7 separate regions of the Homo sapiens genome follow, and all the other regions are linked to region 7. The links are contacts of gene promoters, found by promoter capture Hi-C in blood cells and fetal thymus (Javierre and others, 2016). All regions are on one chromosome and are shown on one strand. The core of a region is centred on a gene start or on the middle of the fragment in contact, and the rest is flanking DNA. Distances in the headings are between cores, read along the strand shown. Region 1 overlaps TYMS (thymidylate synthetase). Region 2 overlaps ENOSF1 (enolase superfamily member 1). Region 3 overlaps YES1 (YES proto-oncogene 1, Src family tyrosine kinase). Region 4 overlaps YES1 (YES proto-oncogene 1, Src family tyrosine kinase). Region 5 has its middle 5.1 kb from the start of YES1. Region 6 overlaps ENOSF1 (enolase superfamily member 1). Region 7 holds the start of METTL4 (methyltransferase 4, N6-adenosine).

What was found. Contacts are between HindIII fragments. The CHiCAGO score rates a contact against its expected background, and 5 or more counts as called.
Region 1: a fragment that was not itself captured here is called in contact with the fragment with the promoter of METTL4 in region 7 in 1 of 17 cell types (erythroblasts); the score reaches 10.8 in erythroblasts.
Region 2: a fragment that was not itself captured here is called in contact with the fragment with the promoter of METTL4 in region 7 in 2 of 17 cell types (erythroblasts and megakaryocytes); the score reaches 9.2 in erythroblasts.
Region 3: a fragment that was not itself captured here is called in contact with the fragment with the promoter of METTL4 in region 7 in 1 of 17 cell types (erythroblasts); the score reaches 7.5 in erythroblasts.
Region 4: a fragment that was not itself captured here is called in contact with the fragment with the promoter of METTL4 in region 7 in 1 of 17 cell types (erythroblasts); the score reaches 5.0 in erythroblasts.
Region 5: a contact is called between a fragment that was not itself captured here and the fragment with the promoter of METTL4 in region 7, in 4 of 17 cell types (total CD4 T cells, megakaryocytes, naive CD8 T cells and 1 more). The highest score is 6.2, in total CD4 T cells.
Region 6: a fragment that was not itself captured here is called in contact with the fragment with the promoter of METTL4 in region 7 in 2 of 17 cell types (erythroblasts and M1 macrophages); the score reaches 6.0 in erythroblasts.

Annotation. Positions count from the first base shown.
Region 1 is chr18:659,385-662,697 of GRCh38, forward strand. It overlaps TYMS (thymidylate synthetase), which reads left to right. Exons shown (of 7, transcript NM_001071.4): 2 at 257-330; 3 at 2,762-2,936. Among named protein-coding and RNA genes, the nearest start is that of TYMSOS, 2.8 kb to the left of the region's middle. The HindIII fragment of the contact is 864 bases long and covers 1,336-2,199 here.
Region 2 is chr18:706,553-710,102 of GRCh38, forward strand. ENOSF1 (enolase superfamily member 1) reads right to left here. Exons shown (of 16, transcript NM_017512.7): 2 at 1-26. Among named protein-coding and RNA genes, the nearest start is that of ENOSF1, 4.3 kb to the right of the region's middle. The HindIII fragment of the contact is 1,477 bases long and covers 988-2,464 here.
Region 3 is chr18:792,917-796,484 of GRCh38, forward strand. All of the region lies in intron 1 of YES1 (YES proto-oncogene 1, Src family tyrosine kinase), which reads right to left. Among named protein-coding and RNA genes, the nearest start is that of YES1, 18 kb to the right of the region's middle. The HindIII fragment of the contact is 4,646 bases long and covers 1-3,568 here.
Region 4 is chr18:727,784-731,061 of GRCh38, forward strand. All of the region lies in intron 11 of YES1 (YES proto-oncogene 1, Src family tyrosine kinase), which reads right to left. Among named protein-coding and RNA genes, the nearest start is that of ENOSF1, 17 kb to the left of the region's middle. The HindIII fragment of the contact is 6,709 bases long and covers 1-3,278 here.
Region 5 is chr18:815,608-819,141 of GRCh38, forward strand. No RefSeq gene overlaps it. Among named protein-coding and RNA genes, the nearest start is that of YES1, 5.1 kb to the left of the region's middle. The HindIII fragment of the contact is 6,417 bases long and covers 1-3,534 here.
Region 6 is chr18:676,982-680,125 of GRCh38, forward strand. It overlaps ENOSF1 (enolase superfamily member 1), which reads right to left. Exons shown (of 16, transcript NM_017512.7): 12 at 1,715-1,756; 13 at 762-891; 14 at 364-463. Among named protein-coding and RNA genes, the nearest start is that of TYMSOS, 20 kb to the left of the region's middle. The HindIII fragment of the contact is 7,224 bases long and covers 1-3,144 here.
Region 7 is chr18:2,569,531-2,572,832 of GRCh38, forward strand. METTL4 (methyltransferase 4, N6-adenosine) reads right to left here and starts at 1,975. Exons shown (of 9, transcript NM_022840.5): 1 at 1,619-1,975. NDC80 (NDC80 kinetochore complex component) reads left to right here and starts at 2,027. Exons shown (of 17, transcript NM_006101.3): 1 at 2,027-2,153. RefSeq lists enhancers at 1,068-1,990, 1,873-2,032. The HindIII fragment of the contact is 2,186 bases long and covers 1,729-3,302 here.

The DNA.
Region 1 (3,313 bases), core at 518-3,017, 1.9 Mb before region 7:
CGCCACCATCTCACTGTGTGGAATTCCTGTGTCCACTGGTCACCGGGGCACAGAAGTGCTGTCTCAGCCTGAATCGGGCCACTGATGGGACTTGCAGCCTGGGAGCTCCACCGTGATCTCTGGCCCACTTTGCGGGAGTCTAGGCTTTCTGGATGCTCCAGGGCCTCACGTCCCAGGGCAGTTTTCTTCCCTGAAGAAAGTTGGATGGCATGATCTGTCTTCCCATCTTGAAACCGTATGGCAAATTGTTTTTCAGATGAATTCCCTCTGCTGACAACCAAACGTGTGTTCTGGAAGGGTGTTTTGGAGGAGTTGCTGTGGTTTATCAAGGTAAAGAAGTCGCTGCTATTAGAAGTCAGTAGTCTGTTCTCAACACAGCAGCCAGTGAGATCCTTTCAAAACTCAAAGCAGCCAGGTGTGGTGGCTCACGCCTGTAATCCCACCACTTTGGGAGGCTGAGTCAGATCACCTGAGGTTAGGAATTTGAGACCAGCCTGGCCAACATGGCGACACCCCAGTCTCTACTAATAACACAAAAAATTAGCCAGGTGTGCTGGTGCATGTCTGTAATCCTAGCTACTCAGGAGGCTGAGGCATGAGAATTGCTCACGAGGCGGAGGTTGTAGTGAGCTGAGATCGTGGCACTGTACTCCAGCCTGGGCGACAGAGGGAGAACCCATGTCAAAAACAAAAAAAGACACCACCAAAGGTCAAAGCATATCATTCCTCACCCTCAAGCCCTTAGTGGCTCCATTTCACTCAGTAAGAGCCACGGTCCTTATGGTGTCCGTTTTTCAGCTCTGACCTTAGCTGCTGCTCTCTGCACCAGCCCTGCTGTTCTTGTGAGTTTTTGAGCACACCGGGACATCCCCACTCCCTGGAACCTTCTTCCCCCACACTTGGCTTCTTCCTTTGAGTCTCTACTCCACTCGGGCAAGCCTTCCTAGACCTCCTGATTTAAAACTGTGACTCTCCCCCAACCTCCTTGGTGTTTCTCCATAGACGAACATCACCATCTGATGTATGTCAGCCTTTCCCTTCCCCTGTTAGAAGGGGGACAGCAGGTAGTAAAAGTGAAATGTGCTGTAAGCTTTATGAGGGCAGAGGATTTGTTTCTCGTGTTCACTGTTGTATCGCCAGGGCCTCAAACACAGCCTGCCACATAGTAGGAGTCAACATATATTGATCACTAAATGTAGATACCACCTGTGTTCCCATGTTCATATAAATTCTAGAAGAGTCTCTTCAGTAACAAGGTGAACCCCTTCCAGAGGGCTGAGTAGGTACCTCAGGCCGGGGCCAGAGTGCTGTGAAGACAGGCAGCAGCCCAGACCAAGCTTCTCTGTGTTCCGTGTCCTGGTCTAGAACCAGCGATGTTCTTTCTGACCAGTGCTTTTTGGAAGGTGGCTGAGGTCTGGGCTCAGGTCTGGGCCATACTAGAAGCTGGGATCCCTTCTATAGAGCACTTGGTATGGCTTGTATGGTCTTGGGGCAAGCCAGACCCAAGCCCTCTTATCCCATTTTAGAAAGGGCTTCAATTTGGATCCAGCCCCAGGTCTGCCTTAGCTCTGTATTCTTGGGGTATTTTGTTCTGTATTGGCCTATCTTGACTAACAATGAACCTTGGATTTGAAACATATCATCAGAAACCTCAGAAGACAACATTCTTAAACTGGCTAGAGCCTGGTCTGAATGGATGAAAAGGAGAGACTTTTGAAGCAATATGTAAAAGATTGAGAAATGATTTGTTGGAAATTTCTCAATTGGAGAAATTTCTTTGATTTGTTGGAAATTTCTTTGATTCTTTCTCAATCAAAGAAAATCGGGACAAACTCAACAATAGAAAGGGAGGAAGCAAGATACTCAGAAATAAAATGCATTCCCCTGTTTCAACTTAATGCTTCAATTCAGGATTCTAAGGAATCCTTGCCAGGAATGTCAGACTCACCTTGATAGTTGGAGTTACTCCATTGGTGACTCGATCAAATACAGGAGTTGAGGCACCTGCACTGTAAAATACTGATTAGTCTGATCATTAGGAATATCCTGTATGCCAGGTAGAAGATACATTGAACAGATTGCATGTAGGCATTAAATTCATTTTGGGGTATTACATATAGACAACACATTTCATTAAGAAACATAAAACTGTCAGATCGGTGGAATACTTAAAAGCACTTGGAGGTGTTTAGCCTAAAAAGCTTAGTTGAGGGGAATGGAAGAAAAGATCTGGGAGGGTGGTTCCAAAGAAGGGATCAGACTGTCCTAAAGCCCTCAGGAATCTGGGCTGGGACCAGCCTACTTAAAGATAGGATGGGCAGCTGGGTGTGGTGGCTCACGCCTGTAATCCCAGCACTTCGGGAGGCCGAAGTGGGCGGATCACCTGAGGTCAGGAGTTCGAGGCCAGCCTGACCAACATGGAGAAACACTGTCTCTACTAAAAATACAAAATTAGCTGGGTGTAGTGGCGCATGCCTGTAATCCCAGCTACTCGGGAGGCTGAGGCAGGGGAATCGCTTGAACCTGGGAGGTGGAGGGTGCCGTGAGCCACGATCGCGCCATTGCACTCCAGCCTGGGCAACAAGAGCGAAACTCTCAAAAAACAAAAAAAAGGATGGGTTCCATATGGGTGGTGTCAAGTGCCCACCTCCTAGCAAGTCAGCAGGGGCCAGAGGCCCTTGTAAGTGGTGTCTCGGGGGGATCAACTGAGATGGCTTAGGATTTACCTGGATGCCTGCTCTGCTCTCCCCATCTCTTCCAGGGATCCACAAATGCTAAAGAGCTGTCTTCCAAGGGAGTGAAAATCTGGGATGCCAATGGATCCCGAGACTTTTTGGACAGCCTGGGATTCTCCACCAGAGAAGAAGGGGACTTGGGCCCAGTTTATGGCTTCCAGTGGAGGCATTTTGGGGCAGAATACAGAGATATGGAATCAGGTGAGGAGATAGAACAATGCCTTCCATTTCCCGGGTGCCCTTCCTAGCATGTGTTTGCTCCGTTGTTTTAGATAAGGTCTGGGGGATGAGTCAATGTCACAGGAGCTGATGTATAGCTTTGACCTTGTGAGGGGTGGTGCCAGGTTAAGCCACAATTAAGCCTCATGAAGGCCGTTTCACACTCTTTTTTTTTTTTTTTTTTAATTATTATACTTTAAGTTTTAGGGTACATGTGCACAATGTGCAGGTTAGTTACATATGTATACATGTGCCATGCTGGTGCGCTGCACCCACTAACTCATGATCTAGCATCAGGTATATCTCCCAATGCTATCCCTCCCCCCTCCTCCCACCCCACAACAGTCCCCAGAGTGTGA
Region 2 (3,550 bases), core at 476-2,975, 1.9 Mb before region 7:
GCAGCCGAGTAGTCAGGGTCCGTGTGCTGCAGGAGAAGAGTTCCCCGCCGAAACAATGCCAGTGTGAGAAACCCGAAAAGAACCATGAGAATGATGTCACATGAGGACAGACAATGCCACAGGGGCCGTGCCACAAGAGCTCCCATAGAAGGAACTGTTGCTATACCCCAAAGAAAACAAAGGGCTCTGAATGGAGAAAAGGAATGTCCTCCTGAAAGATCCAAAATGTTTCAACAAGAGCAATGTATGTATATATATATATATTTTTTTTTTTTTTCTTTTTTGAGACAGAGTCTTGCTCTGTCACCTAGGCAGGAGTGCAATGGTGCGATCTCAGCTCACTGCAACTGCAGCCTCCCAAGTTCAAGCGATTCTCCTGCCTCAGCCTCCCGGGTAGCTGGGATTACAGGCACGTGCCACCACACTTGGCTGATTTTTGTATTTTTAATAGAGACGAAGTTTCACCATGTTGGCCAGGCTGGTCTTGAACTCCTGACCTCAGGTGATCCACCTGCCTTGGCCTCCCAAAGTGCTGGGATTACAAGTGTGAGCCACCGCACCTGGTCGCAATGTATACATTTTTATCACCCATTTTCAATTAGGTTAAAAAATGAGGCTCAATTTTATTTACTTATTTATTTTTTAAATAAAAAAATAGAGATGGAGTCTTGCATGTTACCCAGGCTGGTCTCAAACTCCAGAGCTCTAGTGATCCACCCGCTTGGGCCTCTTAAAGTGCTGGGATTACAGGCATGAGCCATCATGCCCGGAAGGGGCTCAATTTTAAGCCAAGGAGTTTTCACTCGCAGCTATCTCTGTCAGCTTTTTGAACAAAGTTACATTCACAAGCAGCTTCAAATTGAACAAGCCAAAGGTTCAGAAAACTGTTGCATAAAATTGGAGTGATCTCACTTATAGCAGTTTATAGCAGGGCTGAAAATACATTGGCAAAAGTTCAGACACCAGTGGGGGAAAATGAAGAAGTAAAGCTTCGAGATTAATTCACTAATTTTTTGTTTTGTTCTATGTCATGGAATAATGGAGACTCCAAAAAGCCAGGCAGAAGATGTGAATGCATTCATAAAGAAGAATTGTGCATAAGGCTATGAAAATTTATTACTGTTATTATTCTATAATATTTATTGTGCCAGACACACTATATTCTAAGAGCTCCACATGGTTTAATTTAATCTTATAACAATATTATAAAGTAGGTGCTCTTATCCTTATTAAAGAGGAAATGAAGTTTTAAGGAGCTTTAGTAATTTACAAAAGGTCACACCACAAGTAAATAATGTTTTATTATTATTATTATTATTATTTTTGAGACTGACTCTCACTCTGTTCTCCAGGCTGGAGTGCAGTGGCATGATCTTGGCTCACTGCAACCTCTGCCTCCTGGATTCAAGCGATTCTTCTGCCTCAGCCTCCCAAGTAGCTGGGATTACAGGCACCCACCACTATGACCAGCTTTTTTTTTTTTTTTTTAGTAAAGATGGGATTTTGCCATGTTGGCCAGGCTGGTCTTGAACTCCTGACCTCAGGTGATCCACTTGCCTCGGCCTCCCAAAGTGCTAGGATTACAGGTGTGAGCCACCACGCCCGGCCACAAGTAAATTATGAAGGCAGATTTTAAATCCCTGTATTGGGGTGTCGTGGCTGAGGGAGCTGTATGTGATGGCTGGGAGCCCTGAGTCTGGTATCACAGTCCAGTGGCAGGAAATCAGTGTGATGCATCGCTGAGCATCAAGTACGTGTCAGAGCTGGTGCAGCTTGCTAGGGGGTTACAGATACGTCTGCCCTTGAGGAGGTTACATTTGAGAAGACCTGCTTATAGAACGGGCATGCTGGCTCATACCTGTAATCCCAACACTTTGGGAGGCCAAGACAGGAGGATTGTTTGAGCCCAGGAGTTCGAGACTAGCCTGGGCAACAAAGCGAGACCCCATCTCTAAAATAAATAAATAAAAAGACATGGTTAAAAAAAAACCTTAATAATATAAGGCAGAAAATGCTAAGGCCTGGGAGGGATGCAAACTATGAACGACTGGCAGAGAGCGCTGTTAGCTGAATGTGCTTCTTGAAGAGGGAGAGCGCTTTATGATGAAGACAGAATGTGAGCTGGCCGGTCAAGGAAGGGGAGCTCCTCAGCAGTGGCAAGGGGAGTGAAGAGTCTGGGAGGGAGGAATATCTCAGGCAAGGTAGCAGCAGCAGCAGTGCAGAAAGTAAAGGGGTCAGAAGAGGGAGAGACTGGAGTGTATTCAAGTGTTGGTGCCCACCTGGGTTGGCTGAGCCATTGGGTTCCTGAAGGAGTTGAGCGATGAGGCTGAGAAGGAGACTCCAAGAATTAAAGACCCATCGGCAGTTTCTGGGTTCCAAGAAGAGGAAGCAATGGAAAAAGGAAACCTTGCACTGAAGCCTCAGATGAGGGTCAACAGGACGAGATGAGCCAAAAGTGACTCGAAGCTTTTGGGTCCCTGTGATTAGCGGAATGATCCAACATGGGTCAGGAGGGAGGGGCGGCAGAGAATGGAAGTTGACTTCCGATTTAGACAAACTGCGTTTAGCATGAAGGTGAAAAACCAAACAGGAAGTATCCAGACCTATAAGTTAAGGAGGCAGATCCGGAAATGAGATCTGGGAGTCTCCGGCATAAAGGGTGGCACCGAAGTCAGAATGCGGAGAGGGTCTTCATGGGAGTGTGTAGGGAGACCGGAAAGACACTGAGGCCTGAGCCTCAGAGAGGGAAGAAGGGGCCAGTGGAGGAAGAAGGAGCTGTCAGAAAGGCAGGAGGCCACGAGGGGAGAGAGCACACGAAGAAGAGGCAGCCGACAGCGGAAAACGTATCTGAGGGTAAGGACAGCTGAAGGAGAAATAACAAGGGCAATTCACAGAGAAGAAAGGAACAGAAGTAGATTTCAGATTAAGAAGGAGGTAAGCCCGGAGTAGTGGCTCATGCCTGTAATCCGGCACTTTGGGAGGCCGAGGCAGGTGGATCACCTGAGCTCAGGAGTTCGAGACCAGCCTGGACAACATGGTGAAACCCCGTCTCTACCAAAAATACAAAAATTAGCCAGGTGTGGTGGTGCACACCTGTAATCACAGCTACTCCAGAGGCTGAGGTACGAGAATCATTTGCATATGGGAGGCAGAGGTTGCAGTGAGATGAGATTGCACCACTGCACTCCAGGCTGGGCAACAAGCGAGACTCTGTCTAAAAAAAAAAAGCAGGAGTCTTTAGCAGATTTTGAGGACAGCTTTATTGCTCTTTCTTGAAAATATCCTACTTCTGATCAGGGAGGCTCACTTTGCTAAGTGCTGATGGTCCAGCATGCCTCGAGGGCATGTGAAGCCATCTCCATGGTGAACTGCAAAACAGCTCATTCTAATAAGAAGGCACTTGAGAGCTGGCACACAACATACACCCTATCTCCCCAAGATAAAATGCTTAAGTATTTATGAGCTTGCAATACAGGTGTTAGATAATGTCTCCTTACCCTGTGTTAGACATCACTCAGGCCCAGAGGCAAATTCCATTTCTTGAATTATT
Region 3 (3,568 bases), core at 1,030-3,529, 1.8 Mb before region 7:
ACTAAAAATAGAGGAATCCTTCCATGATATTATATATCTATAAAGTTCAAGTCAACTTTGGCATCACAGCTTAATGGCAAACAATAGAAAGAGTCTTAAGGTTCATTATAATTATTATTATTATTGGTTTTTTTTTTTTTTTGAGACAGAGTCTCACTGTGTCACCAGGCTGGAGTGCAGTGGTGCGATCTGGGCTCACTGCAACCTCCACCTCCCGGGTTCAAGCGATACTCCTGCCTCAGCCTCCCAAGTAGGTGGGACTACAGGCGCATGCCACCATGCCCGGATGATTTTTTGTATTTTTAGTAGAGACAGGGTTTCACCATGTTGGCCAGGATGGTCTCAAACTCCAGACCTCGTGATCCACCCACCTCGGCCTCCCAAAGTGCTGGGATTACAGGCGTGAGCCACCGCGCCTGGCCATTATAATTATTACCTGAAATGAGGTTTCACTCTGTCACCCAGGCTACAGTGCAGTGGCATGATCATCGCTCACTACAGCTTCGAACTCCTGGTCTGAAGCAATCCTCCCATCTCAGCCTCCTGAGTAGCTAGGGCTACAGGCATCTGCCACTACACCCAACTAATTTTTTAATTTTTTGCAGAGATGGGGTCTCACTAAATTGCTCAGGCTGGTCTCAAACTCCTAGGCTCAAGTGATCTTCCCACCTCAGTCTCCCAAAGCACTGGGATTACAGGTGTGAGCCACTGTGTCTGACCTGCATGATCCCTTATACAAAAAAAGTAAGAGAATTAACTGAAAAGCTATCAGACACAGATTTCTATAGAGCAGCTACAAAAATATATTGAGAAATAAGTAGTTTTGTAATATACCAAAAATAGTTATAAAGTAGTACTCAACAAATGATAGGGATCTATCAAAAGTACATAGGAACTAGTTTGAAGAGGCTCTTGCTGACCAAACACAGAATCTGAGCATCAAGAAAAAAAAATGGTGACACTAACAGATTACAACTAGTTGACTAAGATAATCCATAAGTCACTCTGATAAATAAATAAGGACAGGAAGGTTCTCTCTTACAGAATCCCAACTACTAAACTTGGAGTAAGAGAGCTACACATTCAGCACACGTATCCCAGAACAACTCTTACTGCAATAATTAATTCAGCCAAGGAATCATCAATGGAAGCAAAAACTATTACCTTATCTGTAATTTACTAAAAAGAGAAATATGTTCATTTTGTGGTGATGAAACCTGACAGATATCACTTAACTAAGTAATCAAAGTTAATACTGCCAATAGTAGGATAGACTAACACAGCGTGCCTCCTGATGTCTTGTACTCTGAAGAACATAATAGCCTTTAAGTGGTACTCCTGCCTCAAATTCATAATCTAAATCAAATCATGAGGAAACATCAAACAAAAACTCATCGATGTACACTATACAAAACCAGTAGTCTAACTTTTAAAAATATCAATGTCATGAAAGATAAAGCCTGAAGAACTGTTCAGATTAAAGGAGACTAAAGAAACATGACAATTAAATGCAACATGTATTTCTAGATTGGATTTTGGATTTTTGTTATAAAGAATATTATTAGGACAATTGGAAAAATATATGAACTACTGTATTACTTTCCTTGCCACATTTCCTTTATTGTTCCCTCCTAGGGCTGCTGTAGAAAAAAAATGGCTTAAAATAACAAATTTATTATGTCATAGTTCTGGAGGCAGGATGTCCAAAATTCAAGTGTCAGCAGGGCTATGCTCCCCCTGACACTCTGGATACCATCCTTCCTTGCCTCCTCCTAGCTTCTGATGGTAGCTGGCAATCCTTCGTGCTCCTGGCTTACAGGTGCATCCCACCAATTTCTGCCTCTGTTGTCACAAGGCATTCTCTCTGGGTGTCTGTCTTCACATGTGGGTTTTTGGTTTTTGTTTTGTTTTGTTTTTTGAGACGGAGTCTCACTCTGTCGCCCAGGCTGGAGAGCAGTGGTGCAATCTCGGCTCACTGCAACCTTGCCTCCCGGGTTCAAGCAATTCTCCTGCCTCAGCCTCCCAAGTTGCTCGAACTACAGGCGCGTGCCACCATGCCTGGCTAATTTTTGTATTTTTAGTATAGACAAGGTTTCACCCATTAGCCAGGATGGTCTCAATCTACTGATCTCGTGATCCGCCTGCCTTGGCCTCCCAAAGGATGCTATTTCCAAATAAGGCCACATTCACAGGTACTGAGGGTTAGGACCCTTTTGGGGAACATAACTGAATCCGCAACTGCAAATTAGGTAACTGTATTATACTGATGTTGAACTTGTTGAATTCAGTAACTGTACTGCAGTTGTATAAGAAAACGTCCTTGTTTTAGGAAATACATACTGAAATATTTAAGGGTACTGAGACATGCCATTTGCAATTAACTTTCAAATGGTGGTGGTGGGGACACGTATACACACATACCCAAGGAGGGAAACATAAAGGAAATGTGACAAAATGTTAACAACTGGTAAATCTGGGTGGAGGGTATCCAGTTCTTTGTGCTACTCTTGCAACTTTTCTGAACTTTGAAGTTATTTCTAAATAAACTTGCAGCACTATTTACAACAGCAAAGACTTGGAACCAACCCATATCCCCATCAATGATAGACTGGATAAAGAAAATGTGGCACCTATACACCATGGAATACTATGCAGCCATAAAAAAGAAATGAGTTCATGTCCTTTGCAAGGACATGGATGAAGCTGGAAATCATCATCCTCAGCAAACTAACACAGGAACAGAAAACCAAACACCGTATGTTCTCACTTATAAGTGGGAGATGAACAATGAGAACACATGGACACAGGGAGGGGAACATCACACACTGGGGCCTGTTAGGGGGTGGGGGGAAGGGGAGGGAGAGCATTAGGAGAAATACCTAATGCATGCGGGGCTTAAGACTAGATGACGGGTTGATAGGTGAAGCAAAACACCATGGCACATGTGTACCCATGTAACAAACCTGCACGTTCAGCACATGTATCCCAGAACTTAAACACACACACACACACACACACACACACACACATAAGACCTATGAGTAAGTAAAACAAAAGTTCAGAGTCTATATAATAAAACTGGGATATAAAAGACAATCTCAAAAAATAAACACATCACTTATTTTTAGAAGGTACATTACAAAGATGCCCATCCTTCCTACATAAATCTAAGTAACATTAAATCAAAATCACAATGAAGTTCACATGAAAAAGTAAATGCATATGAATAGCTGAGAAAGTTTTGAAAAGGAAAACAGGAAATTTGTCCTTCTAGGAATCACAGCCTCATGGTTAAGGGTATAGGCTCTGGAGTCACAAAGTTAGGTTACAGTCCTAGCGTGTAATTTGAGTAAATTTAACCTCTTGAAGCCTATTTCTTTATCTGTAAAAATAAAGATATCAAGAATACTTAACTGTTGAAGGTTCTGTGAGAAATGAGTTAGCTAAATATGTTAAAGTATTTATACAGGGACTGTCACACAGTCAATTATCAATACACATTAGTTGCTGTTATCATGGTTATAATCAACAGCATCAAGCTATTTGGTATTGGCATAGAAACAAACAA
Region 4 (3,278 bases), core at 439-2,938, 1.8 Mb before region 7:
TTATTGTTGGTGTTTTAGATCAGCAGTTTTCCCCAAAGCACTTTAAAGGCATAATTTCACTCTTCCCTGGCTTCCATATCTGAGGAAAAGTTAGCTGTCTGACTGTTGTTCCTGCGTAGATAATATATAGGCTGAGTATCCCTTATCTGAAATGTTTGGGACCAGAAGTGTTTCCGATTTTGGATTTTTTTGGATTTTGGAATATTTGCATATACATAATGAGATATCTTAAGGGATGGGACCCAAGTCTAAACACAAAATACATTTATGAGCCAGGCACGGTGGCTCGCACCTGTAATCCCGGCACTTTGGGAGGACAGGGCAGGCAAATCGCTTGAGCCTAGGATTTTGAGACCATCCTGGGCAACATGGTGAGACCCTGTCTCTACAAAAATTAGCTAGGTGGATGGCACACACCTGTGGTCTCAGCTACTTGGGAGGCTGAGGTGGGAGGATCACCTGAGCCCAGGGAGGTAGAGGCTGCAGTGAGCCCTGATTGTGCCACTGCACTCCAGCCTGGGTGACAGAGACCCTGTCTCAAAAAAAAAAAAATTCATTTATGTTTCATATACACCTTATACATATAGCCTGAAGGTAATTTTACATAATTTTAAAAATAATTTTCTGCACAAAACAAAATTTTGATGGTATTTTGACTGTGACCTGTCACATGAGGACGGGTGTGGAATTTTCCATTTGTGTTGTTATGTCAATGCTCAAAAAGTTTTGGATTTTGGAGCATTTCGGTTTTTTTTCTCTTTGAGATGAAGTCTTGCTCTGTTGCCCAAGCTGGAGTGCAGTAGTGCAATCTTGGCTCATTGCAACCTCTGCCTCCCAGGTTCAAGTGATTCTCCTGCCTCAGCCTCCAAGTAGCTGGTACTACAGGTGTGTGCCACCATGCCCAGCTAATTTTTGTATTTTTAGTAGAGATGGGGTTTCACTACATTGGCCAGGATGGTCTCAAACCCCTGACCTCGTGATCCACTGGCCTCGACCTCCCAAAGTACTGGGATTACAGGCCTGAGCCACTGCGCCCAGCTGCATTTCGGATTTTTGAATTAGGAATGCTCAATCTGCACCACCTCCTTATGGCTGTTTGGCTTTGATTTTTGTAATTTGACCATGATATGTTTGCTTGAATTTCACTGAGTTTAATTTTCTTGTTTGAGGTTCACTTAATCTGTGGGCTAGTATTTTGTTTTATCATATTTAGAAGATTTTTAGCCATTACTTTTTAAAAATGTTGTTACTGTTTCATTTTTTTCTCTCTTCTGCTTCTGGGACTCCACAAATTAGACCTTTTCACTATGCCCCACTGGTTTCATACATTCTGTTCTGCTTTCTTCCCCATTAGCTTTTATCTATGCATTACCTTGGATACTTTGTTAATGTGTCTGAATCCACTAATCTTGTCTTCTATTATGCCCATCTAGTGAGTACTTAATTTGATATAATGTTTTACAGTTCTAAAATTTCCATTTGAGGGCCAGGCGGGGTGGCTCACGCCTGTAATCTCAGCTACTTGGGAGGCTGAGGCAGGAGAATCGCTGGAACCTGGGAGGCGGAGGCTGCAGTGAACCAAGATCGTGCCACTGTACTCCAGCCTGGGAGACAGAGCGAGACTCTGTCCCAAAAGAAAATAAATAAATAAATAAATACAATTTCCATTTGATTCTTTTTTTTTTAATAGATTCCAATTCTGCTCAAATTCTCCAGTTTTTCATTATTTTGCAAAACTTTTCTTCTATTTTAACATTCCATATATTGCTATTTTGAAGTCTTTTGCTAACTCCAAGATTTGGATTATCTCAGAGTCTGCTCCTATTGATTTTGAACTTTTTTTTTTTTTTTTTTTTTTTTTGAGACAGAGTCTCGCTCTGTCACCCAGGCCAGAGTGCAGCGGCGCAATCTCAGCTCACTGCAACCTCCACCTCCTGGGTTCAAGCGATTCTCCTGCCTCAGCCTCCCGAGTAGCTGGGATTACAGGCGCCCGCCACCATGGCTGGCTAATTTTTGTATTTTTAGCAGAGATGGGGTTTTACCATCTTGGCCAGGCTGGTCTCAAACTCCTGACCTTGTGATCCACCCGCCTTGGCTTCCCAATGTGTTGGGATTACAGGCGTGAGCCACAGCGCCCAGCCAGATTTTGAACTCTTGATAATCAGTCATCTCTTCCCTTCTTCATATATCTAGTAACTTTTTATTTTGTGCTAGACATTTTGAATCATACACTGTAGATTATCTGGATCATGTTATCTTTTTCTGAAGGATGTTCAGTTTAATTCCATTTGGAATTTACCAGCAGATCACCTAGTTGTTAGGGCTTAGTTTTGCTCAGTTTTGCCCTTTCTCCTAGGGTATGGACTTTCTGGGGTCTCAACAAAAAGCCTAGCGTATTCTCCAACATCTATCCAGTTTGGCTGGGCAAGAACTCCTCAGCACTCTGTAGCCTCTGAACTCTGCTCGACTCCCCAGCCTCCTAGTGGCTATTTTCTGTTAGGTCTCCCAGAGACTCTCCCTGTGTATGTGCAGATTAGAACTGACCAAGGACCCAAGAGGATTTTTTTTTTTTTTTTTTTGAGACAGGGTCTTGCTCTGTTGCCCAGGCTGGAGTGCAGTGGCGCAATCATAGCTCACTGCAGCTTCAAATTCCTGGGCTCAAGCGATCCACCCACCTTAGCCTCCCAAAGTGCTGGGATTATAGGAGTGAGTCACCACGCCCAACTGGAATTTTAAAGCAGAATTTTAGAGTTCTTTCCCTATGGTTCCTTCTCTGGGACCCTGTCCTTCAGATCCCAGCACTAGGATCTCTGCCTCATTTGCTTAATAAGACTTATGCTTTCTGTCTGGGTTTTACTGCCCTGTGCTATTTTAGAAAATGCCTTCAGAAAAGCCAATATAAATGGGCTTCCTTGATGCAATGTCCTATCAGTTCTTTTACATATTTTATTTAACTTTTGTAGTTGTTTACAGTGCTATAATAAGTTGGATATTAGCCTCTCCATCATAGCTAAAACTGAAAGTTCCTCATGGTTATACATTTAAAGTGACACTATGTTGCATGGCTGTGTGGTTTTTTTCTAGCCCTGTCTGCAAGTGTGGTGTAGGCAGAGTTGGATTTATTTAATGTGGTGATTTTGCTAAGCAATGATGATGAAATCAGAGAAGGGTGAAATCAGCAAAGGAGTGATTATACTGCTTCACTAGGGAATTTAAGGAGTAGAATTGTTTCATGAAGGGGGTGAGAAGCAGGAAAAGGTGGCAGAAACAGTGGAGTA
Region 5 (3,534 bases), core at 841-3,340, 1.8 Mb before region 7:
CTTTTCACTTCTTCACTACCTGGTTTACAATCTTAGAATTTAACCCTGTGCTGAGTATGCCTTCTCCGCTCCAGAACTATTTTCTGGCAGTATAGTCTTTGCTACTGGAATCTACTTTGGGGACATCTCTTGTTTTATTTCTGACTTCAATTCTTTCTAGTTCTGCAGCTTGACCCAGGCCTGTTTTATCTACCAAAGTCCCTGGTTTCAGCTCTAGCTTCTGGTACCACTCTGCTTATTCCTAGGTAGCTTTACCCACAGCTTCAGACTTTCATAGGCTCAGCTTGGTTTCTCACTCTGTTTGGTGACAGCAGTTTCTAGGCCAGATGAGCACCTTACATCCTCTTACATGCCCTCTGCCGAGTAGAATACAGCCTGTAGTGGACACCTCTTGAGGGTGCCTGTTTAACTCAAGTTCCTCTTCTCTGAGAATTAATTCTTCGATAGGTGGCATGTAGGCCTATGATCTGAGTACTGCTAATCCCAGGTTCTAGGCTGAAAGTTTGAATTTTGAGGAGTAACACAAAAGTAACTCGGTTAGTGATTATTCATGGTAACCATGGTGGAGTTGAGTCAAATGACAGAAGATGAGTGTCCAGGGGTAGAGGATTCCAGTGCTGGTGGTGCCTGCGTCATGAGCATACCATCCCCGTGGCAGAACCTGGACTTTGTCTTGCCTTCCTTGCTTCCTGCCTGAGCCTGCTCCTCTAGTCTTCCTGTTGATTCTCACCATCCTCCAATAAATTCCCTTTATGCTTCAATAGAGACCATTTTTGTTCTTTGCAAATGAAAACCATTACTTAGTCTTTGCTACTTACTTGTGCAGCCAACAGTAAACTCAGGAGCTGTGAGGGTGGCATCTCCTGCCACGTGCTTGGAGAGGCAGTGGGAGTGGGATGGGGAATCCAGTTTTCACAGAGGATGAAGCAGGCACAGCCAGAGGTGGGAGATAAGAGATTGTGGGACCCCAACACTGAGACTTGAGACTTGTGACTTTTGTCACATAGAAGACCCCAAACCTAGAACAGAGCTGGCAGGTCAGTCTCTCCTCCTGCTTGCCCATGGCAGTCATGGCTTTTAGACCATGGCATAGCATATACTCTCCCCCAGAGCATTAATACCATCCTCAGAATCCTCAACACAATTCAGGCAACAGCCACTGCAAAACTGGAGTTAGAATACATTGAAAACCATTTCATATCTCTGCCCTATCGGCTTACAATTTCCTCCTGAGTCTATATTTGCAATTTCTGTAGTCATTAGCAAGTGTTTGGCCCATACTTTTCTGAAATATTAAGCTGATATATAGTCGTGTCAGTGTCTGACATTGAGTTTAGACACCAGTAAAATTGCTACCAGATTGCTACTTCCTGGAAATCTTTACAAATGGGTTATGAAAAGTAGAACATAACATTGCTTGAAGGCAAGAAGTTAAAGTAGATTGTTTACCTGCATTGAGTGTTTAGAAAAGAAACTATAAATCAAGCTCTTATCTTTAAAGTTAACGGACATCAGATCATGAAACATAAAAGGTTAGTATTAAGGAAATTTGTATTAGATGTTTTGCAAGGTAACACTGTAACTGGGTTTTTTTTTTAATGTGTTTAGAATAAATCCATGCTTTTGAAAACCTTGTTTTAATCTCCTCTCTAAGGCTAAATCTTCTTTATGCATTTTTGGCTGTATAGATCCTTATTTTTCACATTGAGCAAATTTTAAATTCTGACTAGAGATATTATATGATGTAAAGAGTAAAACAGGCCTGCCGCGGTGGCTCACGCCTCTAATCCCAGCACTTTGGGAGGCTGAGTCAGGTGGATCACTTGAGGTCAGGAGTTTGAGACCAGCCTGGCCAACATGGTGAAAACCCCTCTCTACTAAAATACAAAAATTAGCCAGGCATGATGGTACACGCCTGTAATCCCAGCTACTCTGGAGGCTGAGGCAGGAGAATCGCTTGAACTTGGGAGTCAGAGGTTGCAGTGAGCTAAGATCACGCCACTGCACTCCAGCCTGGGCGACAGAGTGAGACTCTTGTCTCAAAAACAAACCAAAAAACAATAAAACATTTAATATTAACAAACTATGTTCATCTTCTTTGACTTGTATATGAAAAGGGCTTTTGATTACTTGAAATAGCTACTTAATGTTTCTTTTTTCTAAGGAAAGCACATATGCAACAAATGTTTAATGTAAGACCCATGCTTTGATGAAAGGTGTTTTACGTCATGTGAATGAATGAATTAATCAGTGCAGACATGAGGATTGATAAACAACAGCAGTGGCAATGGCTGTCTTTTTATTGAGCCTTCACTATATGCCAGGTGCTTTACCTACATCATTCACTGAATCTGCACAATAACCTTGGAGGTTGGTAGTATTATCACCATTTACTGATTGGATGCCTCAGGCTTGGAGGGGTTAAGCAACAGACAACTAATAAGAGGAGATGCTCCAAAACCTATTCTACTCAAAGTCACTGTGATTACAAAAAAGAAATTATTTTTAAATGTTATTTCAGTGACCATGTAAAATATTATTTCTCTAAATTCTGGAATCATAAAAATGGGTAAATTGCCTTTAAAATTAGGAAGATATAGCTAAGAAATGTGAGAGTGTACAAATTCAAGGAAATCCTTCTTTATATTACAATCTCACATCCCGAAGAAAGGGTTGGAGCAAACAGATTTATGAGAGACTAGCCTAAAAAGAATGAATTCATTTCAGAAAAAAAAGCATGTATTAAATATGACTCTCTGGAGAGATTAGTTATTTGCATCTATCAAGTCAAACTTCCATCGACACTACCTAAAATCATGGTCTTCCAACAAAGAACCAAATATGGGAAATGACCATATACATGCATAAATTACCTTACCAAATACAAAATGTCCAAGTTACGTCAATATTAAGGTTCGTATTTTAATCTGCTCTGACTGTGTAACTGTATAGTTAAACCTTCCATAGTAACTCAATGATAAAAGTCATTAACAGTTAATAATAGCCCAACACTAGGTAAGATTGTTTAATATTTTAAAAATCAGCTCATTCATTCATAAAACAGAGTGCCTCCTGATAAATTCTGTGTCTTTTGGCCTATATTAAGAGATTTTTTTTTTCTCAAGAGGGAGCCTCTCTCTGTTGCCCAGGCTGGAGTGCAGTGGCACGATCTCAGCTCATTGCAAGCTCCGCTTTCCGGGTTCATGCCATTCTCCTGCCTCAGCCTCCCAAGTAGCTGGGACTACAGGCGCCCGCCACCATGCCTGGCTAATTTTTTGTATTTTTTTTTAGTAGAGACGGGGTTTCACTGTGTTAGCCAGGATGGTCTCAACCTCCTGACCTCGTGATCCACCTGCCTAGGCCTCCCAAAGTGCTGGGATTACAGGCATGAGCCACCGTGCCTGGCCAAGAGAGATCTTATGACTTTATTAACTTAGAGATAAATACCAGGACACATTGTACTGAAATCCAAGGAGTGTGAACATTAATAGATTTTCAAATACTTTATTAAAATTTATTTTCAGAGATAAGGAA
Region 6 (3,144 bases), core at 613-3,112, 1.9 Mb before region 7:
AGATGAAATAAATGTGTGTCTAGACCATGGAAGACTCCAGTACTGGGAAGAGGAGATGGGACAGAAGTACAGAATACACGTGATGAAAACAGGAGCTGGTTAAGGGAGTAGTGTGGCTGCAAGCCTTACCTTCAATGTACTTAAAAAATAAAGTGAGTCAGCTACCAGACCCTATCTTAGGAGGCAAAATGACCGTTCATTGGTGGGTCTCTGTGAAAGCAAAACCAACTCCGCCTGAGAGTTATAGGACATGCCAGCGGACAAGGTCTTAGTGTGTTCTGGTCATGAAGGCAGAATTTACAAGCTCTGGCCTGGATTGAGGGACCCTACTGAAACAGAAAGTATTAATGCCACATTACTGACCTATTTTCAAGGCTTGCAGAAACTGATATGTAGTCAAATATAATCAGGTGCTGCACCAGTTCACAGAGGCCAACTCCACCAGCATGGGGGCAAACAGGAACTAAAAGGAAATCGTTTCTATTTAATACCAAGAGTAGGGCAGGGAGAGGAAGGGGTGAAAGGGAACTTTCTGGTTTTTCTTATTGCCCACAGGTGATTAAATCATTTATTAATATTTAGGAAGGAAATTCCAAGATGAAAATCATCAAAAATTCCCGGATTAAAGCTAAATGAGAGTTAGAAAAAAATCGAAATGGCAAACTACAGACTCCCATGCATGTGAATTGCAAACCATCAAGGGAGGTGTCTGATTAGTGGGGAAATGAAGGTCTGGTCTGCAGCCGCTGCAGCACGCTTACTTTCAAACTTTTTGGCCATCAGCAATACTGAGAGGTTCTCATTGACACTGCCCAGTCTGCAACTGTCAATCTGGAGGAACTGCAGGGCCTTCGCCTGTAGGAGTTGCTTAAATATCACTCTATTGTGGCACTGGAAATAGAATTGAAAATAACACCAACAGAAGAGTCAGCCTTGGCCTTCAGGATCTCTAAACCTGGCAACGCAGCCACTCTATGCCAATAATTATTCATCAGTGGCCGTCAGGAAGCCCAGACTGTATTTCTTCTTTGTTCTCGCTGGGCATGAGGCGAGCTTTTATAGCGTGGGCAGGGACCTTGTGCTCACTTCTTTACAAATCTGCTAATGCAACAGTGTGAGTCAGGTCAAAATCACACTGGCTCGCCATTTATGAGGGAATGACTGTCACAGCGACTGATAAGTGGGAGATGAAGCATCAGGATGAAATACGGTGACAGTGATGAGCAGGTGGCACAGATGACAACACGGAACCACGGCAGAGCAGTATTGCTCCTTTTGCCGGGAAAACTGAGAATCAGCTCCTCACGCTGCTCTGCTCGTGGGCTGACTGCAGCAGGTTTTGGCAGGCACTCGGGCTTCATTTATAAGCTCAAAAAGTGAACGCAGTCATGTTTATTCAATTTGAAAGCTGGCTTTCTTAAGACCATTTTCTGCCCTTGCAATAGCAACTTTAAATTGCTGCCTTTTCAATTTCAATTAGACACTTTGAAAAAGATACCCGACCTTAGTCATATAAATTGGAGAAATAGCCACAAACTTTTTCTATATCTGACTCTAGACTCTGATAAAATGACCCAGTTTCTAAGATGATGAAAATTTCCCAACTCAAAGTACAGCAGGTGATGGAGCCTAACACACAACTGTGTCCTCGGTCACTGGTCAGCGTGTACTGACCCCAAGGGGACGTCATCCACCTGTTGGGGGCGTCACTCACCTGTTCTCCTGTGGCAATGCCAATTCCTAATGGGACCAGTGCCTATAAAATAGAAGGCAGCCTGGTGTTATTTTCCTAAGTTTTGAACTGCAACTCCTAATGTTTAAAAACATTTATAGCTGAAGGAGGAAACGGCCCTGCTGTTAAGCCATGTGAAGGCTCAAGACTGGCAAAGGATGTCCAGGGGAACACATGCGTGCGGGAGGGCTCTGTGTATCTGCAGAGGAGAAGGTGAGCACTGCTGAGCTGCCACCACCAGCCCCGTTCCTGACCAGGGCTCTGCAGATCTCCTTCTGCGGTGTCCCGGCCCATGCTCCAGCTGCGCTCCTCCCAACGTGGACAGCACCTCCCTCTCCAGCCTGCGCAGTGGCATAAGGACAGGGCTATTCGGAGTGGCTCATTGTGGACTCACAGGGTCCAACCTTTGGACGACTCCTTCCTGTGGGTCATCACTCCATCAATTCCCTTCTTCTTGCCTCCCTGAGAAACCTCCTTCTAGAACCCTCTCATATCTTTTTTTTTTTTTTTTTTTGAGACCGAGTCTTGCTCTGTCACCCAAGCTGGAGTGCAGTGGCATGATCTTAGCTCACCGCAACCTCCACCCCCCAGGCTGAAGCGATTCTCGTGCCTCAGCCTCCTGAGTAGCTGGGATTAGAGGTGCACGCCACCATGCTGGCTAATTTTTGTATTTTTAATAGAGTCAGGGTTTTGCCATGTTGGCCAGGCTGGTCTCAAACTCCTGACCTCAGATGATCCTCCCGCCTCGGCCTCCCAAAGTGTTGGGATTACAGGTGTGAGCCACTGCACCTGGCCTCATGTCTTTGTTGATTCCAAAATCCTCTTCCTTAAGGCAGGAAAAATCCATGAAAAAAAAAAAAATCCTCTTCCTTCCAGCTCAGTGGGTGGCCTCAGACCTCAATCTGCAGGTTAGGCTGAGACCATTGCTCACCTGGTAGAGTCCTCACCTGGTGAGGTACTGGACTCTGCACCTGAACACAGCCCTGCTGCTCTCTGTCCTCTCACCTGGCCCCTGAACACTACCTCCGTCACCTGCCACCTGGACTCTGGGCGCTCCCATCCATCCTCTACTGTGACTGCGACTCCACAGCTACTCCGCACAGGTAGCCTTGGTTCCTCCCTGGCTTCCCTTCCCTTTGCTTAGGGTAATAGTAATCACACTGACAGCTAACATTTTTGGAGCTCTGAGTACCTGTCAGGTGCTGTGCAAAACACTGACTTAAATGATTCCTGGTCTCAATCCAATGGGAGAGGAGCCAGCGTTATCCCCATTTTATAAAAAATGATAAAACTGTGTGCCGGGTTTGAACTGTTCCTGGATCACAAAGCTAGAAAGTGGTAGAGACTGGGTTGGAACTCCACTGATTCCAGAGCCAGAGGAGGCATCTGAATAATCAGACTAAGCCAACTTC
Region 7 (3,302 bases), core at 725-3,224:
GGCTTGTTAGAGTAGACGTGAAGATCACAGCCTGTGGGACCACTGCTGAGTGTGTGGGCACTCAGTTTAAGTATTCAGTGATGCTCCTTCCAAACCACTGTCCTGTCCCCACCTCTTCCACTCCCACCCTTGGCCAAAGCACAGATCATAAGCCCTCTGCTCCGCTCCCCTCTGAGATTCGCCTTCCATGAGGAATTCAGGGCTTTCCCCATATCTTCTCTTCCCCACCTTTATCAAGAGATGCTGCTCCCTCCCCGTCAAGTCTCTTTTTGCACTGTCACCACCCAACACTTTCCACGACACTTCTTTGCTTTGACCAGAAGCCATAAGGTAAGGTTGGAAGAACATTTATTCACTCTCCACCAGCCTAGGAAATTAATAGTGGGTCCTCAGCCCTGCCACCTTCTGCTGTTATCATCAGCCTTTTAACTCAGGTTTTGATATGGTGAAAAGAGTCACCAGGGTTATTCAGACACCCCGGCTGTCAGGGTCCTTGGTGGTTAAACCTGGGAAAAGGCCACATGAAGACAACTGTAAGCACACATGATCCCTCTGAATTGTTTTCTTTTCCTGCAATTGTGCTTGCTCTTAAAAATTGAAGTTTTAAACAGGGCTCACATGTGATCATCCTTCCATCTATTGGAGTCTAGCTTGAAATGTGACAACCGGAACCAAAAGAACCTTGAATTTGGTGCCTACTTTGGTTTTGGTGCTGCTGCTTCTCAAGATCCTCAGCAGGGATTAAGAAGTTGGGGTGCACAGCAGGAATATCAGGAAATTGGCAGGCTTGACTTCCTGGCAAATTGCTAGCAGGACCACTAAATGCTGAACTGTACTGTGAATGTATACCGAAATACAAGCAATTATTTCTGTACTAAAGGTGTTTTTAATTTTGTATTTGTGTAAAACCACCTTTGGAAGCAGCAACTATCTAGTCAGAAAAGCAAATGATGTTTCCATTAATCTTTTCTGGGGAAAACATTAGTGCTAAGGATTTAACAATCTGTAGGTAAAGTTTAACCTAACAGTATTCCACAAGGAGACTTTTTATTATCAGACGGTTGCCTAATTTTCATATAATTTTTATATTAATATAATCCTTGGTTCCTCCCCATCCCCTTCATAGGCCACAGCTGAGGTGAAAAGGGTCCTGGAATGGCTAGTGAGAGCTAGAAATTCAGACGGGAAAATTGAAACTCAGAGCAGAAAGGCAAGCTGCCCAAAAATAACAACGCTAGTTAATGGCACAATTGCTACCAGACCCAAGTATCCAGACTTCCTGGAGCTGTGAGATCTTTCATCACCACCACTCTCCAGGTACCGGGCAGTGCCTGTTTCTGGATTCAAACTCACAGCAGCGAGGAAATCCTATTTTAGCAAAGTGATCTACTGTTACTGTTGTTAGTGCACCCCTCTCCTGCGTCTCTGCTTCACATCCACTCCCTCGCCGCCCGCCCCCAAACACTTGGATTCTTCCTAGCCTCTCACAGGTCAGCCACCACCAGAGGACCGTGAGCCTCCGGCAAGTGATCAAATACTGAGCCCGAATTTCGGCAGCCGTACCAACGCAATCCTGGGAGCCCATTCCACCCACTCCGCAGCCCCTCTCCCACCTCACCTCTTCCCTTGTCAGAAAAGCGGACGCCGCCTTCCCAGACTCTCCTCATGAAAACAGCACCCATCTAAATAGTGATCATGAAAAATGCCCCTTCCAGTCCACAGAGAAAAAGCTTTCTCCTTTTCTAAGAGTCCATGGGCGCCGCCATGTTGCTGTACGGAAAAACGTTTCCAGGGCGAGTTGAGCGTTCAGGGCACTCCTCGGCGCTCAAGCTGCCCACAGGTCTTCCGACCTAACTTTAGGGGTCGTGCCAGTCTTCGTAGAGACGGCCACACTGGCCCACAGACCCCAGTTCCTGGGGTGACGCAGCTGGGCGCGACCAGCACGCAGCCTTCCAGCGACGAGGCGGTCGCATGGAAGTTACTGCGCGCGTCGTGCGTAATGACGTCAGCGCCGGCGGAGAATTTCAAATTCGAACGGCTTTGGCGGGCCGAGGAAGGACCTGGTGTTTTGATGACCGCTGTCCTGTCTAGCAGATACTTGCACGGTTTACAGAAATTCGGTCCCTGGGTCGTGTCAGGAAACTGGAAAAAAGGTGACTGAATGACATCGGATTAACTTTGTTTCTGCAGAGCTGTTCTGGAGGAAGAAAGTGATGGCGCCAATGACTTAAATTTAGAGGTCCTGAGGCGATGTTTTGGTGTTTGTTTGCTGTTGGGAGAAGCCTCGAGGCCAAAACTGTGCGAGGCGCTGGTTTCACGGGATCTATTAAATTTCTAGTGGCAACGATTTCCCAAGGAGGAAAGGGGAGGGCCTGGGGGACACTGATGAGGAGTGGAGGCTCGGGAGAGGAAACGGGGAAGAATTGAAGGGGGCGGAAAGAGATGGACAAGAGAGGACTCGTTGGGTGGGTTGCGTCTGAATACTAGTGTAGCTTCTTATGGCCGTGTAGGACTGCGTGTAGAAGTCTTCATCTTAAATCATGAGAGCTACATTCTAAGTGGAGATTAAACGTGGACACACAGGTGTGAGTGGAAAAGTTGAATAGATGAACAAGCGCATATTGAAGAGGAAATAGGCGGCCAAAATCAAGAAGAGTCTAATCAGTGTAAAAGACTAAGGAGTACCCAGAGAAGTAAAAGGATTGTCACCTTCCTGAAAGCCAGGGCAGGACCTGAGAAGGCTGGGTGCAGAGATGAGACAGGATCAAAAGTTTTGTCAATCATGTGTATCCTAGGAGACAAATTTTTTAGCAGATGTGAAGGGAGTGACCTGTTAATGTGGTTTGTAAATGGAGGCAGCCTATAGACCATTTTATGGACCGGATGATTTATCCTTGTTGAAGGGGAGATTGATGCCAAAAGGGCAGTAATTGAGGAAACAATGGGTTAAGGACAGAGCAGGAGAGATTGACATTAGGAAAACAGAATAATTCCATTCTCTGAAACCAAAGAAAAGGAAACATTTTGAGGTGAATAAGAGAATTTGAGGTAATTTTTTTGTCTTCCTATTGAAATAGGCACAGCCAACAGCAGTAATGTGGTCTGGGTAACAGACAGGGCTTTAGCTACCACGGATACCCTTGTGAAGGCAAAAACCGTAACTTACTCGTCTTTGCATCTCCTGCATTGCCTAGCACACTCCCCTATATATATAGTGGGCAGTTAATAAATGTTTATGTTGAATATTTTTAAATGGAATTAAATAGATGTTCCTTGCAAATGAGAACTTCAGTGTACATGAA